Linked DNA regions of Homo sapiens: region 1 is linked to region 2. The links are contacts of gene promoters, found by promoter capture Hi-C in human tissues and cell types (Jung and others, 2019). All regions are on one chromosome and are shown on one strand. The core of a region is centred on a gene start or on the middle of the fragment in contact, and the rest is flanking DNA. Distances in the headings are between cores, read along the strand shown.

Region 1 (5,101 bases), core at 681-3,180, 440 kb before region 2:
ATTGCTTGAACCCGGGAGGTGGAGGTTGCAGTAAGCCAAGATTGCGCCACTGCACTGCAGCCTGGGTAACAGAGCGAGACTCCATCTCACAAAAAAAAAAACAAAAAGTCTCAGAGAGCTCTGGGCAGGCAGGTTACTGGTCGCCTATTTAGTTACTGAAGCTGTTGTGTTTTGCTTTCTTGAGGAGTTTGAGCACTGCATGGAAGAAAGGTTTATTAGGGACAAATGGGCCCCACTGCCCTGCTGCCTGGGAGCACTTGCCAGAGGATCTTGGGTCTTCACTACACAGGACAGGAGTGACCACCCGCCAGCTGGGCTGGTTGTAGTGCCGGCACGTGGTAGGGTTAAAAAATCGTTTAAAGTTATAAAAGTGTTTGCAAAGCATATGGGAGCCCTGCTACTTTGGGCAAGCCTCTCTTTGAATCTTGGTTTCTTCAACTGTAAATGGGATTAGTAGTAGTGGTATCCACCTCAAAGAGTTATTGGATCAAACGATATAAAAAATGTGAAGTGCTTAGTACAATGCTTGGCAAAGAAGCCAGGGCTCAGTAAATGTGCAGGCCCTTCCTCTCATTGTCATTTGGCTTCATGCACGCTTACATATGGCCTTCAGAAGAGAACAGATTCAGATCTCTGTTCCTTAGCCCCAAGCATGCACCTGTCAGCATTCAGGCCCATGGTTATTTGGCCAGCCTTGTAATGATACTAAAGACTGACTATTCAGAATGTTTCTTCTGAACTTTCAAAATCAATGACAGTTGCACACTATCTCCTTTCAGGCAAAGGTCCCTCCAGCAGACCCTCTCCCCACCTTGTTTTGAAAAAAGCATTATTTAAGGGAAATATAACTGAGCCTGGCTGGCTGTACTACCTTATTTTTCTATTTCCCTCCAAAGTGAATGCCAGACATTTCTAGGCCAAAGACAGGATTAACATTTCTCAGCCTAGTAAACACACCCATCTGGATTCAACCCGGGGAGCACCAGCACTGCAACCGTTTCCTGTAATCGGCTTGAACGATCCAGGCTGTAAGCTTGAAAATGAAATTCTGGAAACGATATTTCCATCCTGGAAGCTGTTTCAATTACAGCTTCTTGCAGATGAACCTCAGATAAGCGGCAAACTTACAAGCCCTGGCACGGATGTAATGAGTCTGCACGATGGGAACCTGGCCATGCTACAAGGAAGAGGCTGCCTGTAGGCTGAGAATATAATCGCTGGACAGAGCCACAAACCTGTGCTGAGCACCTGCAGCGCGGCAGACATCCGGTGAGACTCTGAGAACCACAGGGAGCTGAACGTGGGCCCCATCCTCAGAGACTTTTGGTTCAGTGGAGGAGATGTATTACCAGGCCATTTTATGTAATAGGCTGAGATGGTGCTCAACCCTGGTGCTGTGAAAACATTAGCCCAGCTTGGGATTGAGGAAGTGATCCCCGAGCTGAATCTCCATAATTAAGCAACAGTCAGCTGTGTGAAGTAAGGTGGAAAGGATATTCGAAGCAAGGGTAAGAGCAAGCAGAGACCCAAAGATATGGAACAGGAGTGTGTGTGTGTGTGTGTGTGTGTGTGTGTGTGTGTGTATGTTTGTCCGTGCATGTGTATCTGAGTCTAGCCAGCCCAGTATTCAAGTACAGGAAAGGGAGTGCCCTGGGAGTAACTGGGTGTACGTTTGCCCTTCACCATCATTTTTAGCATCAGAAAGTCCTTCAGAAACTGCCCCAAAATCTTGGGTTCAAGACACCAGACTTCTAGGGTGTGGGATTCAGGCCCAGTGAGTCTCCCCGAGGTTTGCAGAGGCCAAGCCTTTACATTTCTAATCTTTAGTTTACAGTGGGGCCTCGGTATTACTAATAGAATTAGGGTTCAGTAGGTGTCCAAACAGCCAGTTCATGGAAGCTGAGGAACCTGAGCCCAGAGGGAAACTTCAGGACACACAGCAATCAATCCTGGAACGTCTCTGAGTTTCAGGGCAGTTTTGGAGGTCATTAGGGAGGTAGCAGCGGGCTGATTTGATAACAGGTGCCACCTTGCTGACTCTTCTTCCAGTGTGAAAATGACTTGGGAGCACAACAGAGGCTCCTTTTGAAGGCTGGTCCATGAAGCAGATGCCTCTATTTGTTCTTTTTTCTTTTTCAGAGACAGGTTCTTGCTCTGTCACCCAGGCTGGAGTGCAGTGGTGTGATCGCAGCTCAGTGAAGCCTTGAACTCCACAGCTCACACGATCTTTCTGCCTCAGCCTCCTGAGTAGCTGGGACTACAGACATGCACCACCACACTCAGCTGATTTCTTATTTAAGAAAAATTTTTTAGAGACAAGTCTTGCTCTCTTGCCCAGGCTGCTCTTGAACTCTCACCCTCAAGCGATTCTCCCACCTCAGCTTCCTGAGTAGCTGGGATTACAAATGCAAGCCACCACGCCCAACGTTGTTCATTTTTTATATGTTTCACAGTGTATTAGTCCGTTTTTATGCTACTGATAAAAACATACCCAAGACTGGGAAGATAAAGAGGTTTAATTTGACTTACGGTTTCACATGGCTGGGTAGGTCTCATAATCATGGCGGAGGGCAAAGGGCACTTCTTACATGGCAGCAGCAAGAGAAAATGAGGAAGAAGCAAACGAGGAAACCCCTGATCAAACCATCAGATCTCGTGAGACTTATTCACTATCATGAGAACAGCACGGAAAAGACAAGCCCCCATGATTCAATTACCTCCCCCAGGTCTCTCCCACAACACATGGGAATTCCAGGAGATACAGTTGAAGTTGAGATTTGAATGGGGACACAGCCAAGCCATATCACACAGTTTGGGTGAAGGATACTTAATAAGGGAGGGCGCAACATACAAAAACTGCAACATCTGGCTGCCATCAGCTCCTCCACCAGCGCCCCCGCGTGGGAATTAGTGGAGCGCCAGACAGTCCTAAGGTCAAGTCAGTCCTAAACTTGCAGTTGTTTGTGAGACTTACATCACTTAATTTCACAAACCTCACTGTTCAAATGGGGACAATCAGGCTTATGAGTAGTTGTGGGTGTCAAATGAATGTTCGTATGAGGTCTGGCATCACAATGAGTATTTTAATGGATCTTATCCAGATGCCTCCAGATGCTATTGGATAAAAGGTTGCAGCTAACAACTGACCTTGAATTTTTCTGGCTACTTGGGGGGCAGTGCTGCCCTTCAGTTTGGAGACTCCCCTTAGTGTCACCACGGTAGGCAGTGGGGTCAGCCCATCCATAATTACACTCAGAAAACCAGAGGCAGCAGTACCTGAGGGCCTCCAACTTGACCTTTCCTCCTCCTGCTTCTACTGAGCTCTGCCTATGAGCCTAGAGGCTTCTCAACCACCTCTCCACACCAGACTGTGAGAAAAAGGGCGCCTGCCTAGAAGTGACACAACTTGAGTTTCTTCTTCTTCTTTTTTTTTTTTTATAAGACAGGATCTTGCTCTGTTGCCCAGGCTAGAATGCCACGGCATGATCACAGCTTGCCACAGCTTCCATCTCCCGGGCTCAAGTGATCCTCCCATCTCATTCACCTCAGTAGCTAAGACAACAGGTATGTACCACCACACCCAACTAATTTTTAATTTTTTTGTAAAAACAGAGTCTCACCATGTTGCCCAGGCTTGTCTCAAACTCCTGAGCTCAAGTAAAGTTCCTGCTTCAGCCTCCCAAAGTGCTGGGGTTACAGGCGTGAGCCACTGGCCCACTGCACCTAGCACAACCTGGGTTTTCATTCACTGCCACAACAGAACTTGGCACTGAACAGTTCTATTGCCACTCTCAGTTTCAAAATCCCAGAAGAGGGGAAGATTTTAAAATATTTAATAGTATTATTTTTATTTTAAAAGTAATGCAGATACATTTAAAAAAGAAAAACCCACAACGAATAGTATAGAATGCTGAAGTTGAGCACTTGACTTCTCCTGGCCTCAGTTTCCTAATCTATAAATGGAAGATAATAGTAATACCTTCCTCTTAGGGTTATTATGTAGATTAAATGAAGGATAGGAAAGGCACTTGGTGCAATGCCTGGCAGAGAACAAGCATGTGATATATGTTAGCGATTACCATGATAGCCATTGTACATCCAGAGATGACTTAGAGTCTTTTTCCAAAAATAAGCCTTGTTTATAAGAAAACACATTTACACACACTTATACACAGAGAGATGTTATACTTAATGCTCTGCAACTTGCTGTTTTCACTTAACAATAATCTTGAGCATGTTAATGCCTATTAATTCCCCCACACTCTTAAAATGACTGGGCAGTATTTTGTTGAATGGATGTACCGTAATTTATATGACCAAATGGGAACATTTAAAATACATAATTACCGGCCGGGCACAGTGGCTCACCCCTGTAATCCCAGCACTTTGGGAGGCTGAGGCAGGCGAATCACGAGGTCAAGAGATCGAGACCATCCTGGCCAACATGGTGAAACCCCGTCTCTACTAAAAATACAAAAATTAGCTGGGCTTGGTGGCGGACACTTGTAATCGCAGCTACTCGGGAGGCTGAGGCAGGAGAATTGCTGGAACCCGGGAGGCGGAGGCTGCAGTGAGCTGAGATCACGCTACTGCACTCCAGCCTGGGCAATACAGCGAGACTCCATCTCAAAAATAAAATAAAATAAAATAATAAAATAAAATAAATAATTACATATTTGCTCAGAGGTTTTATATTTGAAAATATAGGCAAACAACCATTTGAATAACTCAAACACATTTTCAAAATTTACAAATGTTACAAACTGGACCCACGTTATGTACAAACAGTGCTGCTGAGAGACAGACTGGAACCTCAAATCAAAAGCACCGTGGGCCAAAGTGGACAAGTCTAATGGGGCAGGTTAAAAGCAGTATAAGTTACTATACTTATTCCAGATTCACTTGAAACAGAATGGAACATTAAAGGAGGTGTAATAGTTGTTTGTTCAAGTTCTTTACTACAATATAAAGCGACCAGTGATTTTACCATTATATTCTTCAACTGGCTTCCCAGCACCTCGAATTCAATCAGTGTCCTGCTGTGCAGAGGTATTTTGAAATGTGCCAAGTCTTCATTGGAGTGGAAGTGCATGAAACCAGA
Region 2 (4,641 bases), core at 656-3,155:
GTGAACTACAGTATTTTTTTTTTTTTTTTTGAGACGGAGTTTCAATCTTGTTGCTGAGGCTGGAGTGCACTGGTTCAATTTCGGCTCACTGCAACCTCTGCCTCCCAGGTTAAAGTGATTCTCCTGCCTCAGCCTCCCAAGTGGCTGAGATTACAGGTATGCACCACCATGCCCAGCTAATTTTGCAATTTTTAGTAGAGAAAGGGTTTCACCATGTTGGTCAGGCTGGTCTTGAACTCCTTACCTCAGGTGATCCACTCACCTCAGCTTCCCAAAGTGCTGGGATTACAGATGTGAGCCACTGCGCCCGGCCTACAGTACGATTTTGAGCTCCAAAATGATTGTCTCCTTTTCAATCATCTGCTAAACACAGACATAATTAAAACCAATTAAACAAACACAAGGAAGGTGTGAGGTGAAATAGTCGAAACGTGTGTCCCCACACATCCAAGGCAGTCCTTTCCACATCTGGGGACTGGTACCCAGGGTGGCGCCTAGTGGTACCTGAGATGATTTTAGAAAATATACTGGGCTGGGTGTGGTGGCTCACGCCTGTAATCCCAGCACTTTGGGAGGCCAAGGTGGGAGGATCACCTGATGTCAGGAGTTCAAGACCAGCCTAGCCAATATGGTGAAACCCCATCTCTACTAAAAATACTAAAAAAATTAGCCGGGTTTAGTGGTGCACGCCTGTAATCCCAGCTACTCGAGAGGCTGAGCCAGAAGAATCGCTCGAACCAAGGAGGTAGAGGTTGCAGTGAGCCGAGATTGTGCCACTGCACTCTAGCCTGGACGACAGAGTGAGACTCTGTCTCAAAAAAGAAAAGGAAAAAAAAAAAAGAAAGCCAATTTAAAGAAAATAGTAAGTGATATTTGGTGATAAGAAGACTTGAGAAACGAAGTTGCTAATTGAATGACTAGTGATTGGAAAATACCAACTCAGACCGGGTGCAGTGGCTCATGCCTATCATCCCAGCACTTTGGGAGGCCGAGGTGGGCGGATCACTTGAGGTCAGGAGTTTGAGACCAGCCTGGCCAACATGGTGAAACCCCATCTCTACTTAAAATACAAAAACTTAACTGGGCATGGTGGCAGGCGGCTGTAATCCCAGCTGCTCAGGAATCCCAATTACTCATGAAGCTCAGGCAGGAGAATCGCTTGAACCCGGGAGGCAGAGGTTGCAGTGAGCCAAGATCATGCCACTGCACTCCAGCCTGGGCGACAGAGCAAGACCCAGTCTCAAAAAAAAAAAAAAAGAAAAGAAAAGAAAAGAGAAAAGAAAATACCAGCTCCAAGACTGCAATTTGTCACACTTACTGTAAGGCCACGGTGTGATTTTTATCTATGTTTGATGTGGTTGCTTCAAGTACTATGCTCACCACTGAACACTTGGCTTCATTAATAGACAAAAACCAAATTTTAAATTTGTCCCAGTTTTCCCAATTTTGGGAAGAGAGGCCAAATGTTAGACCACACACAATTCCAGCGGATTTCAGGCCAACAAAGCCTTGATGTGTCTAGCCCACTTAGCTTATTAACGGACTAAAACTGCATTTGTAATTAATTCCATTTCATACAGAAGCCGGAAGTCTCTACCTGAGGCTGAAATAAGAAAGGGATCCTGTCACAGAAATACTAGACACAGTAATCCACACAAGGTTAACAAAACAGTGGGAAATATGGAAACAAATACCTAATGCCCCGCCTGGATTCGTTCTTTTAAGGTTGGGGCGACAGTAGGAAAACCACGTGTCACTTGCCCAAGCATTCAGCCTTAAAGGGAATTTCTCCCTCAGGGTCTCCAGGAGGCGGGGAGGCGGTGGCTCCTCCGGCCCCGCCCCCCCACCAGCAGAGGGCCCGCTCACCACCCCGTAGGCCCCGCCCCTGCGTCTCTGCCCGCCCCGTGGCGCCCGAGTGCACTGAAGATGGCGGCTGCTGTAGGACGGTTGCTCCGAGCGTCGGTGAGTGGCTGTCGGCTGGGGACAGGCGTGGAGACACTGGTGGCTCCGGGAACGTGCTTCTCAGACAGGACCCCGCGCTTCTGGGCATGAGGGCCATTCGCCCTTCTTGGAGGGTTTCCGCGGGTAACGGACCCAGAGGCCTCCCTCCGGGAAGGTTCCATGCGCCTGCGCAGAACCGCCCTTCCCCACTCCATCCTCGCGGTCTCTTCCCCGAGTCCCTCCTCTTTCGGCGTCCCCGGTCCCCAGGCCCATCTCCACTTAAGGTCCTGGCCCTGATTCTGCCACCGACCCTGTGATCTTGGGCAAGCGCCTTCGCCTTTCTCAGACTGTGTACTTAAGATGGAAAGAATGATGCCTACATCAAGGCGTTGCTGTGAACAGCCCCTTAAATACTGGATAAAAACGCGCAAAGTGCTAAAAAACTCACAAAGGCTTTCCCTCCCAATCCCACTCCCGCGTGTTTCTGCTGCTGTTTCCTGCTTAACTGTGGGCAATGCGTCGTGCTCTTTTGGTACACGGCTTTCTCTGGTGGGGTTCAACACAGCCCCTTTCGTTCTCCTGAGTCATTTTGAACATTAAAGTTGAGCAAACCGGCAGAGTGCGGTGGCTCACGCCTGTAATCCTAGCACTTTGGGAGGCCGAGGCGGGCAGATCACTTGAGCCCAGGAGTTTGAGACCAGCCTGGACAATAATAGTGAGACCTTGTCTCTAAAAAAAAAAATAGCCGGGCATGGTGGTCAGTGCTCCTGGGGAGGCTAAGGTGGGAGGATCACTTGAGCCCAGGAGGTCGAGACTGCAGCGAGCCGAGATCGCGCCACTGCACTCTAGCCTGGGTAAAAGAGCGAGACTCTGTTTCAAAAAAAAAAAAAAAAAGTTGAGTAAACATGTCCCTTGAGCCTTTAACAGACTCCCAGAGGCTGAATTTGGCTCTTCTTGTTTACTTGTCGCTGGTGCTGGAGGGGCCTTGTTTTTCTAAGGAAAACCTTGAAATGGTAGAACATACTCAGCAGATAGTGCTGGGAAAAGCCTGCACAAGTCCCCTGGCTTCTGAACCCTGTGTTGCTTTAAGCGCATGGAGTTTCTGATTTTTTTTTTTTTTTTTTTTGAGACGGAGTTGTCGCCCAGGTTAGAGTGCAATGGCGCGATCTCGGCTCTGCAACCTCTGCCTCCCGGGTTCAAGCAATTCTCCTGCCTCAGCCTCCCAAGCAGCTGGAATTACAGGTGCCCGCCACCGCCGCCTGGCTAAGTTTTGTGTTTTTAGTAGAGATGGAGTTTCACCATCTTGGCCAGGCTGGTCTCGAACTCCTGACCTGGTGATCAACCCGTCTTGGCCTCCCAAAGTGCTGGGATTACAGGTGTGAGCAACCGCGCCCAGCCGGTCTTTGTGTTCTTATAGTTCCTCTCCACCTTCCAGTCTCCTAGGAGAAGGAAGCAGAAGGGAGTGTTAAGAACATGCAGATCCAATCCATGCTCTTAGAGTTTGGGGTTTGCTATTTGGTTCACAGGAACAGGGACAGCTGAAACCACCGTTGGCACGATGCCCTTTCAGCCTTCAGTCACCAGTCCAGGAAAACTTTCTAATAAAAAGTTTCTCTTTCCAGGTTGCCCGACATGTGAGTGCCATTCCTTGGGGCATTTCTGCCACTGCAGCCCTCAGGCCTGCTGCATGTGGAAGAACGAGCTTGACAAATTTATTGTGTTCTGGTTCCAGTCAAGCAAAATTATTCAGCACCAGTAAGTGTTATGTCATGTCTTGGCTGGAGCCAGGTAAAGGAAAAATGAACCATCGTCTCTGGACAGGGGCTCTGAACCCTGGCCAAACGTTAGAGTCACCTGGGAGCTTTCAGGAACACAGCACTGCCCCCGTCCCACCCCAGACAAGTTAGTCTGTGGGGTGAGACCAGGATGTGCCGGGTGATTCTAACGTGCAGCCAGGGTTGAGAATCACTGAGGCAAACTGCCCTTGTCACATTTCCATGTTGGTTGTCAGAGTTTCTAATCCACTGTGTTGAGGAGGGTGTTACTGGGAGCTCAGATGCCTTCTGAGTCTAGTGTGTCTGAAGAGCTGTGAGTGGTGGGCAGCCTGTGGGGGACCTGAGAGGGCAGCTGCTCTAAGATTCAAACCTGTGTAATGGCCCCAGCTGGCCACTTAGGAACCAGACCTGTCTAATGGTATCTGTAATCTGAGCGAAATTTAGCTGTTTCTTGAGATTTACACTCCCTTCTCTAGGATATGGGCTTTGCTAAGATCAGCCTCAGATAATGAGTGGTATTTGAAAATACCTTGTCTAGATTTGACTAGCCTTTGAAAAAGCCCGTATTTAATATGTAATGGTTTGTGGGGATATACTTTAGTAAAGCCTTTGTTTGTGGGCAAAATGTTCTAAGAGCTTTCGCAATTTTACTACCCTGGAGCTTCAAAATATTTCTAGTAGTGATGTGATACCACAGGCTTAAAACTTTACTCCACTGGTTTCGAATCCTCATCCCCAGCAGCGCCTCCTGTTTCTGTTCATGGCGGTGTCAGGCATTTTGACATTGGAACTACTCTGTCGCTCATTCCTGGGTAGAAGCAAGTCCTTTTCAGTTTTGACACATCTCTTGCATCCATTCCTTTCTGTTCTTTCTGCCCCATACCTCCCCTCAATACGTCTAAGATCACTGAAATCGAGGCTGGGC

Evidence for each region. Contacts are between HindIII fragments. The study calls those that stand out against the background at their distance.
Region 1: a fragment that was not itself captured here is called in contact with the fragment with the promoter of PRDX3 in region 2 in 1 of the 25 tissues and cell types used here (spleen).

Annotation. Positions count from the first base shown.
Region 1 is chr10:119,614,890-119,619,990 of GRCh38, reverse strand. No RefSeq gene overlaps it. Among named protein-coding and RNA genes, the nearest start is that of TIAL1, 20 kb to the right of the region's middle. RefSeq lists an enhancer at 2,800-3,094. The HindIII fragment of the contact is 4,396 bases long and covers 1-4,128 here.
Region 2 is chr10:119,176,076-119,180,716 of GRCh38, reverse strand. It overlaps PRDX3 (peroxiredoxin 3), which reads left to right and starts at 1,905. Exons shown (of 7, transcript NM_006793.5): 1 at 1,905-1,962; 2 at 3,564-3,696. The coding sequence starts at 1,927. RefSeq lists a silencer at 1,763-1,872 and enhancers at 1,903-2,382, 2,382-3,026. The HindIII fragment of the contact is 15,713 bases long and covers 1-4,641 here.